Regions from separate parts of the Homo sapiens genome. Here all the other regions are linked to region 1. The links are contacts of gene promoters, found by promoter capture Hi-C in blood cells and fetal thymus (Javierre and others, 2016). All regions are on one chromosome and are shown on one strand. The core of a region is centred on a gene start or on the middle of the fragment in contact, and the rest is flanking DNA. Distances in the headings are between cores, read along the strand shown. Region 1 holds the start of PON2 (paraoxonase 2). Region 2 overlaps COL1A2 (collagen type I alpha 2 chain). Region 3 overlaps COL1A2 (collagen type I alpha 2 chain).

What was found. The method cuts DNA at HindIII sites, captures the fragments that hold promoters and counts their contacts. A CHiCAGO score of 5 or more calls a contact.
Region 2: a contact is called between a fragment that was not itself captured here and the fragment with the promoter of PON2 in region 1, in 1 of 17 cell types (total B cells). The highest score is 5.2, in total B cells.
Region 3: a contact is called between a fragment that was not itself captured here and the fragment with the promoter of PON2 in region 1, in 1 of 17 cell types (naive B cells). The highest score is 6.3, in naive B cells.

The regions. Positions count from the first base shown.
Region 1 is chr7:95,433,421-95,436,592 of GRCh38, reverse strand. It overlaps PON2 (paraoxonase 2), which reads left to right and starts at 1,565. Exons shown (of 9, transcript NM_000305.3): 1 at 1,565-1,715. The coding sequence starts at 1,642. RefSeq lists an enhancer at 1,208-1,778 and a silencer at 1,453-1,882. The HindIII fragment of the contact is 3,363 bases long and covers 600-3,172 here.
Region 2 is chr7:94,400,223-94,403,394 of GRCh38, reverse strand. It overlaps COL1A2 (collagen type I alpha 2 chain), which reads right to left. Exons shown (of 52, transcript NM_000089.4): 5 at 3,107-3,172; 6 at 1,775-1,828. Among named protein-coding and RNA genes, the nearest start is that of COL1A2, 6.9 kb to the right of the region's middle. The HindIII fragment of the contact is 1,298 bases long and covers 848-2,145 here.
Region 3 is chr7:94,425,820-94,428,991 of GRCh38, reverse strand. COL1A2 (collagen type I alpha 2 chain) reads right to left here. Exons shown (of 52, transcript NM_000089.4): 44 at 3,135-3,172; 45 at 2,941-2,994; 46 at 2,462-2,569; 47 at 1,931-1,984; 48 at 1,697-1,804; 49 at 1,107-1,365; 50 at 515-699. Among named protein-coding and RNA genes, the nearest start is that of COL1A2, 33 kb to the right of the region's middle. The HindIII fragment of the contact is 3,339 bases long and covers 1-3,172 here.

The DNA.
Region 1 (3,172 bases), core at 316-2,815:
ACAACTGTCCCCAGGCATGGGTATTGGGGCGTGACTGAAGTCCCATACTCATGTCGCTCTGGGCCTGATAAATTTTGCATACCTCACAAAGCTCAGACTGCTCTCAGCTATTTTTTTTCCTTACAATGTAATTGATTTTCTTTGCAATCTATACATTTTATTCATTTATTTAAAATTTTTTTTTCTTCTTTCTTTTTTTCATGAACCGCACAGAGAAAATTTATGCATTTTATTGTAAGCATTTATAAACATTATTCTAAGAAGTTATCCACAGGCTCACCACTGCCAGAAGGGTCCACGACACAAAAAAGGTAATGCCTCATGGGCTTTCAAAGGACAACTTTTTACTTCTCTTTCTACCATCCAGTATAATCCAATATCCTTAGGACTGAAGCAGAGATACACACACACACAGGGAGAGAGGTGTTTGTGCTTTTTTTTTTTTTTTTTTTTTTTGGTGAGAGGCAGGTGGGAAATTGGCATCCACTTTTATTTACTGGTTCTTTATAAAACTGATATTTGTTGAAAATTGTCAAGTGTGACCATTTCTGCCTACATATTGTAGGGTGGCAATTAAATACCGAAAACCATTAGAAGCTTATTTCAGATGTACTCATTTATTGTAATGGTATCAATCTTGATGGGTAAATTTCATTTTACTTTTAAAATTGTATTTTAAATTATTCCTTCATGTTACGGTTGTTAGAGTAAAAACGGAAAAGAAAAAAACTACACTTCTTCCCTTTGAGTTTGGATGAAAAAGACGTGTCTAAGTCCTTAAGTCTGTAGTCTGGAAGTATTAATAGAGGCTGGGCATGGTGGCTCATTCCTGTAATTCTAGCACTTTGGGAGGCTGAGGCAGGAGGATGGCTTGAGTCCAGGAGTTTGAGACCAACCTGGGCAACACAGCAAGACTCGGTCTCCACACACACACACACAGACACACACACAACTTACACACACTTAGCTAGGTGTAACGGTACGTGCCTGCGGTCCCAGCTACTCAGGAGGCTGAGGCTGGAGGGTCCCTTGAGTCCGGGAGGTCCAGACTGCAGTGAGCTATGATTGTGCCAATGTACTCCAGCCTAGGCAACACAGCGAGACCCTGTTAAAAAAAAAAAAAAAAAGTATTACGAGGCACAGGATGTTTATTTATTCGCAACTACGTCCTGTTATAAAAAGTAGTGATTCCAACGTGAAATATTTACACGACGCATCCCGTTACTTTCCCTCCCTTGGCCACCGACCCCCATCCCCAAAAGCTGCTTTCTATGTAAGTTTCTCACTGGAATAGCGAGTGAGAAATGTGTTTGAAGACTAGGGAAACGAGAAAGGTATGCGGGCTGCTAGAGGGTTTCGGGTGGGTTGTTTGAAAAAGGAAGTGAAGGAATTCAAAGTTTCACATCATGAGCCTAATGTAAGGCGTGTCCGGGCCGTCCCGAAGGTATCTGGGGAAATAGGTTTGTGAGGACAAAGACCAGGGCCAGGCCCAGGGCGGAGCCTCCGCGGCCCCGACGCAGGGACTCGGCCTAGGCGGAGGACGGGGCGGAGCGCGGCCGGCACCATCGAGCCGGGAAGATGGCACCGCCCACGGAGCTGCTGGCCAGGCCGGAGCGAGGCAGCGCGCCCGGCTCCCGCGCCATGGGGCGGCTGGTGGCTGTGGGCTTGCTGGGGATCGCGCTGGCGCTCCTGGGCGAGAGGCTTCTGGCACTCAGGTAGGTGGGACTCCCGCGCGCCCCTCCTCGGCGGTCCCCAGGCTCGGGGTGGCCGCGTGGTGCGGGGAGGGCGCAGGCTGGGGGAGGGATTCCTGCGGGACCTGGCCCTGCGGCCGGGGGTGGAGAATTTTTGAATGCTGTCCCTCCCCCAGCTAGTTGAACCCCCATCACCCCGACTCTCCGCTTCTAGTGAAAAAACTAGCAAAGTTTGGAGTGAATCGCGACACTTTCTTGAAAGTTTATAAGCCCTTGCTGCTAACAAAGTTCTCTTCTGCTTAGGCTGACAAGAGAATGCTTTGCAATTACCCAAGGGCCAAACTAGTGGTTTAAATTGAAAACAAAATGACTACTCATGCATTGAAACCTTAACTATGAAGATTTATTTCAGGTCATTGGTGCTGTTTCTCCTTGTTGCCCAAACCAGACCCGTCTTTAATAAAGTTGTTCTCCACCCATTTCTGCATAGTTTGAGAAACTCTTCAGCTGTAGATCAAAGACACTTGAAATATTCAGCTACTGTTCTTACTTCCTATTTATTCACCAGGGAAGCCTGAAGCCAGAATGCCAGACAGCGCAGACACTATTCCATCTCGCATTTTAGTTTTAATGAAAATCTCTGGTAGGTAGACATCATCGTTTATAAATTACCAACTCAACGTTTGTTTTTTGTTTATTTTATTTTTTGTAGAGATGGGGTCTTGCTGTATTGCCCAGGCTGTTCCCTAACTCTTGCACTCAAGCAATCCTCCAGCCTAGGCCTCCCCACAGTGCTGGGATTACAGGTGTGAGCTGTTCTGCCCTGCCTCAACCAAAATTTTATAGGCCTCATGCAAAAGAGTTCCAGAAAGACTGAGCACCTGCTATGTGTAATGTTCTCTCTTAGGCTTCTATAGTAGAGTACGACCCTTATGGAGTTTGATACAGGGGAAGAGAGAATTAAAATACAGTAAATGTATAAATTAGGATGTTCTAAGGACAGACACAAATGAACCGCATAGGCTTAAAGAGGAAAGATTCCATCCCCTGAGGGTGGAGTTCTAGAGGGAGGAAGAGACATTCGACCTGACCTTGAAGGGTGGGTGCAACACATATGAGCATGAAGGGGCCCATGCCAAATGTATAGTGCAGCAGGAGCAAAGGGGCTAAGGTGGGAAGTTGGAAGACTAGCAAATGGGCCAATTTGAAGGGAGCATAAAGTCAGGAGATGAGAATAGTAGGGTGGTGGGAAGGATAGGTTTTGAGGCCATTAAATATAAGTTGAAAAATGGGGCCCCACTTTCATAGGCCCAATAGTGCTTCAAAAGGGAAATATTGGTGGGTTTTGCTTTTCAACAAGAACTTAATATAACTAGTTGTGTTTTATAGAGATAAGCCTGGAAGGGGGGATTGGAGGAGAGCAATGGTTCTCTGTACATTAGAATCTCCTGGAGGGCTGGTGTCTGAGTGGCACCACCAAA
Region 2 (3,172 bases), core at 247-2,746, 1.0 Mb after region 1:
TGTGGGGTTTTATAGTTATTGATTTTCCAACATGGAAATTATTTTAATACTTTATTGCTGCCTATCTTCCCTATTTGTGAAACAGATATCTGTTGATTACATATGTCTGTGCATGTGTGTGGATGTGCAAGCTTAAATTATATTTCACTGATATTTCAAAGTAAAATACTCTGCTTTATGCCAAGACAGATGTTCCGAAAACAGGGGTATCTGAAATCCATATTAATTTTCCCAGCTTAGTGGGCTTTTTAAAAATGACATTTAGTAGCTCTTTACTTTCCGCCCCCTTGCTTCTTCTTGAGATGTAGGTACTGCTTTAAAACTGACTAATGTCCAGCATTAGCTGAAACAGCTAATTTCAAAAATCCAATATAAACAAAGCCAAAAGAAACACTCTACTTTTTCATTTCAGATATGAACATTTTAAACTACCAGAAAAAATTAGGGAATTAGAAGTCGTCAATTAAAGGTACATTATTTCTCAAGTGGGAGTTTTAATTTACAGAAAATATTATCTCACCCTTAGAGTATATTAGCTTACTGTGGGCCATTAGCTCCAGCAGAACATCTTCTTTTGAAGATAGAGCACTAAGTGCACTGCCCAGGTAAAATTTACATTTTAAAGACCTTGTTGACTTTGGGCAGATAAATACCTTTGTTTTGAAACAATTAATTAAAATCACTAAATTGCGTGTGTGTGTATACATTAAATTCTGTAGTGCTTAATCAACCTAACACTTTGACTTCTGGCAGTTTTCCCCTCTATTTCATATATGCTAGTATACATTTTGCATGCTCGTATTAGCATTTTTCCCTTCAAACTTCTCTCTAATGCTTGTTAGAAGCTTCATTTGTTAATAGTCATCATCATCATCATCATCATATAGGGAATGTTTCTAAGCGGTGCTCCACTGATAGGGTATGGTGCTGAATATTTGTACTGAGTGACATAAATGCTAGATTTTTACTCATACTCTCTTCTATATAGATTTACAATCAATAGACTAAAAAAGGATTTTTTTGGTCAAAATTCAGAAAAAGAAACATTTCCTATATTGTTAACTCCTTGAGGAAGGATCAGAATCTGTCATATTCCTTGTAATTTCCCCAGTTCCTAATACAGTTTAGGGCCCATTGAAGGCATCTGATTAATATCTGTTGACTAAATGAGTGGTTTATTCAAGGACTAGGTACATAAACCATGATGTAAGCAAATATTAGACATCTTGCCTGGCATCTAGTTCTAGTTATGTCATTAGTTACCTGGATGACTTTGAGAAAAGGGCTTAAACTCTCCCATTTTAAAATGAGTTAGCTGGACTAGATAGAACTTGTTGATCCTTTCCAACAAGTTCAGAGAACTTAATAAATAGTTCTATGCCTCTAAGTGTTGCTTAAAATTCTAAGCAATGTTAAAGAATATTAAAAAATTAATCAGAGTGATTACTGTTTTAAATTAAATTGATTTGCCCAAGTTATGGTTACTATGTCCAAAGATTATTTCTTGGACATAAGTATATGATCTATCTTAATGAGGATCATATAATCAAAAAGATCATATAATCATAAAAGATCAATTAATCTTTCTTTTGTAAAGAAAAGTGAACTCCTTAACTTATGTTTTCATAAATTTGAAAACAAAAAGAGTTGTTTTTATATAATCTAAGTATTGAGTGTTAACTTAGGTAGCTAAATAAATGGCGTGGTAAAATGTGACATAAAATGAATGATTTATTTAGCAATTTTTTTGGCTAAGATAAACAGATAAGCATACCATTGGTCCAGGGCCAAGTCCAACTCCTTTTCCATCATACTGAGCAGCAAAGTTCTAGAGAAGTAAAAAAAAAAAATTATATATATATATAAAATATTTTTAGTTACTAGTCATGTAGTTCATTTTCTCATTCTACTTGTAAATATTTTTCTGTTGTTATTTAAAAGAGGGCAATGTTTTTGATATAATTATTAGTTTAAAATTCTATATTGAACTAAATTCCTAAAAAGTTATGAGAGCTGTACGTCAAAAACTTGGCCGACACCTCTTTGAAATGGAGAACTTCCCTACTTTACTTTTTGAGCCCTTCCTCTGCCTTAACTCGGTGTCTCCACTCCCACCTTTTACCTCTACTCTGAGGAAGGGAAGCTTTCTAAACTTTTAATGTTACTAAGGGCTCCTGACAAATTAGACAGAGCTCAAGAGGACATCTTCACATTTTCACCTGTTGCCCTTCCCCACCGGAGCTACACAAAATGACTAAGAGATCTTTTTCTTGCTGGAGTTTCAGGAAGGGCATAAAGAGTTTTCAAGTTTAGAGGAAAATTAAATTAAAATACCCCTTGGAAGATAAAACTTCTAAAAACTAGTTCACAGTAATAACTTTACTGTTAAAGATCTCTCTTATAGTGGTAGCTCTATTAAAGAAGCTGCTTTTTAATGCAATTCATAGATAAGCAATCATAATAAGATCTTTGGGGGAGAAAGGTCTTATTTTACTGACATACAGTTGGGTATTAGAATCAGGCTTCTGATTCATAGTGCTAACCAATTAAGCAAATATGTTTTCCTTCCTGCAGTGAGGTCATTTGGCACTCATACCATTGTTAAAGACATGAAGCTAAAAGAAGATATTAATGAAAAAGGGAAATGTACTTTTCTCAAATTAGTTTCAAGCAAATTAAACCTAAAACCGCTTTGAATGTTGGTTCAGCAGACTTCAAGTCAAGGAGAATAAAAAGCGTAGGATGTTTGTAAAATTGCTTAAGATCAGGGATTTCACTTACACAGTTCAATCTAATCAAAATCCTTAATAATGCAACACCTCTTATTTGTGCCTTACTAATAAAAGATATTAAATCTCCAAATTAAATAATGGTAATGATGGCCACAGCTAACTTCAGTGCACACAAAGACCAGTCCTGTAATTGACAAGGGCTCACAAAGAGAATGGGTAAAGCAGAATCTTGAGTGAAAAAACCAAATAAATGAAATAAAATATACTAATTTTCAAATGGAAGAATTATCCCTTAACTGCTAAAAATAAATTCCACAATAAACCTTCTTTCAACTGAAGTTAGCTAAAAGTTAGCAATACGTAAGACACCTTACCCCACCGAGACCAGGGGGGCCAGGAGGACCAGGTGGACCAGGAGGGCCTGTGGGACCATCTTCACC
Region 3 (3,172 bases), core at 346-2,845, 1.0 Mb after region 1:
CTACTAGACTGAGGCAAGGTCATCTAAAAAAGTTATCTGTTTCAATTAATCCTTTTTGCATATGCTTCTTCTTTAGAATAAGAGAATGAGGAGGTAGAAATTCTGACATTTTTCTTTTTCTGTCATTTTGTAATTTATGGAATTCCAGTAGGCATTCAGTAAAGTTGGTGAAAAGGTTTGATTAAAAATTCAGAAAAGCTGCTCACATTCTGAAAATGCATATGTATGAGTGTGGCATATAGCTGGCCAGTGCTCCTTCACACTAAATGACATTAGTCAGTTTTTTCAATGATTACCAATTAAGTCAAATTTGAATAATAACTTTGAATTACATGGATGTGTCCAATCAATCCATCTTCTAATGTGCAATTTAGGACAAAATTGGAACCCAGGAAAGGAACAGGTCTTTTTTTAATAAGCCCATTTTTGTCAGAGATTAAAATGCAGATAATTAACAAACAGTCCTACCAAAATATTATTTAGCAGAAGGAGAGGTGTTTGTGGGATTCCTCACCTGGCTGCCAGCATTGATAGTTTCTCCTAGCCAGACGTGTTTCTTGTCCTTGGAGCTCCTATACCAGTTCTTGGCTGGGATGTTTTCAGGTTGGGCCCGGATACAGGTTTCGCCAGTAGAGAAATCACAGTATACTTTGATAGCATCCATAGTGCATCCTTGGTTAGGGTCAATCCAGTAGTAACCTTTTAAGAAAATAACATTCAGATCATGAAACTTCTCATTGAGCAGAACACAGATTCTAATAATAACTAATGAAAGATACTGACTCTCATAAGTAACATTTTTGATTGTCTACCCCATATTTAAGAGGAAGAGGGTGGCTATTTTTAAGATTAGACAGTTCCTTCCCTCCCCTCCTCCATGAAAAATCAAATCAGGGTACTTATTACTATGAAAAGTGCAAAAATACATTTTAAGGGAAATGAGGTTGGGTGCTGGTTGGGAGAAGATGACGCTCCATTAATTGGGTGTGATTTCACATAATGTAATCTTTACCCAAATGCATTTTCACTCTAAATGTCAATGGAAACTAATTTTGAAAAGCTCAACTTGTGAGAAGGGTCAGTCTGGTCTGGACATCTTGACCTACCACTGCTCCACTCTGGGTGGCTGAGTCTCAAGTCACGGCATGTGCGAGCTGGGTTCTTTCTAGAGCCTTCAGGAGTAAGAAGGGTCTCAATCTGGTTGTTGAGAGACTTCAGAGTAGCATCAACTTCATAGTCCTTGGGTCTGAGAGAAGGTGCTGAGCGAGGCTGGTCAGCCCTGTAGAAGTCTCCATCGTAACCAAAGTCATAACCACCACCGCTTACACCTGGAGGTCCAGGAGGGCCAGGGGGACCAGGGGGGCCCTGCAAAGGTGAAAGTGAGATAGGAGAGGCTTTATATTTTGTTACAGTGAGAGACATCCATGGCAGCAGATTTTCAGTTGAGCTTCACACGGAAGCATGTTCTCATCAGTAAAAAATAATCAAGTTCACATAAATAAATAACGAGCCCCCAGGCACACTTGCAGGGATGGACTTAACAAGCCCATTGCATATAGACAATTTCCAGATATTTTAGAGGATATATTGAAATGGGGCTAACTTTAATGGGTTGTCAAAGTTGTCTTGGTTTAGTCTGAAGAAAACATTCCTTAGGTCCGTGATCTTCTTTATTATTTCCCCAAATCATACTTACAGCAGGGCCTTGGTGACCCTGAGGGCCTCGAATGCCAGCAGGTCCAACTGTACCAGGATGTCCAGTGCGACCATCTTTTCCAGCAGGGCCAGAAGGACCAGCAGGGCCCTAAGGAAGACAGACACCAGGTACATGTGAGCTGGTGAATCCCACCAAGGGAGCAGCAGCCTGGGGCTCACTGCTCGCTTTAGCCTCTATTTCAGAGATGAACTGTCTTCTCTTGAGTCCACCTACCCTAGGACCAGCAGGACCCACGGAGCCAGGAGCACCTTGATCACCATGGTGACCCTTTAAAGACAGAAGAGGAAAATCACACTTTCAGAGCACATGTCAAGAGACATATTTTTTTTTTTTTTCCAAATTGAATGGGAAACTTTAGTTAAATGGACTCCGGATTGAGAAAATTGAAAATGTAAAGTGGGGCTCTTTTCTCCCATTATGTCTATTATATTCAATTTTTTTTTCACAACCTATTTCAGCAGTGCAATATTAGTCATTCCTCTAATTATGTTTATTTTAAGTGGGGTTGAAGGACATTGTTACCAGGAGATTTTATTGTATGTCTATTTCTATCTCCCTTAATCCTCACCTTTCATGTTGGTATGAAATAGCATTACCTCCAAGAGTGAGATGGAGTTAGCCAGAGAATGGGAAATGGATATTATATAGGCTATACTGGAACAATAGCAGTGAAAATATGAAAATCCTTCTGAGCTGAAGGCCTTCAGGATCAGTTTATGTGCGAGATGGCTACAGTTTACTTACAGCGATACCAGGCAGACCTTGCAATCCATTGTGTCCCTTTAAGCCAGGAAGACCTCTGGGCCCCTTTTCACCGGGCTCTCCCTTATCGCCACGAATGCCTTGTGGGCCCTATAAAGAAACAGAAGGATGGATAAGACTTACCGTTTTAAAAAAATGGCACTCACTTCACCACAAATACTGCTTAATTCGTTTACAAAGGTAACTCAGGACATGTAATGGTTTAGCTAGGCTCTCACCTCTGCTGGTAATCTGCTTTAGTTGTGCTATCTGTAAAGTGGCTAGATCCTTGTAATTGTTTAATACAAACAAGCATAAGAGATTTAAAATAGCTCAAGTTATTTGTATCAATTCTCAGCATGGACTGAAATTTTTAAAAAATATTAAGTCTAGCTGATATATTGTTTATTTTCTTAACAGATGTTTTGGACTGATTCTCTCTAAATGTTAGTGTTGCAAAGAAATCTTCAGCATGTACATACACTAGGACCTCTTGGGCCAACAGCACCAGCAGGACCAACAGGACCAGAAGGACCCTGTGAAATGAAAAAGAAAAACACAACTTAGCTAGGCCCAAGATACCCCTCCCCACTCCTCCACCATCCCCAAGTGTGGGGAAGTCAGAAGTGAAGCCCACGAGAATGCTGCACTGAGGGACTGGTATTCACAAACTTACAGTTTCACCACGGTTTCCATGTTTGCCAGCAGGACCCA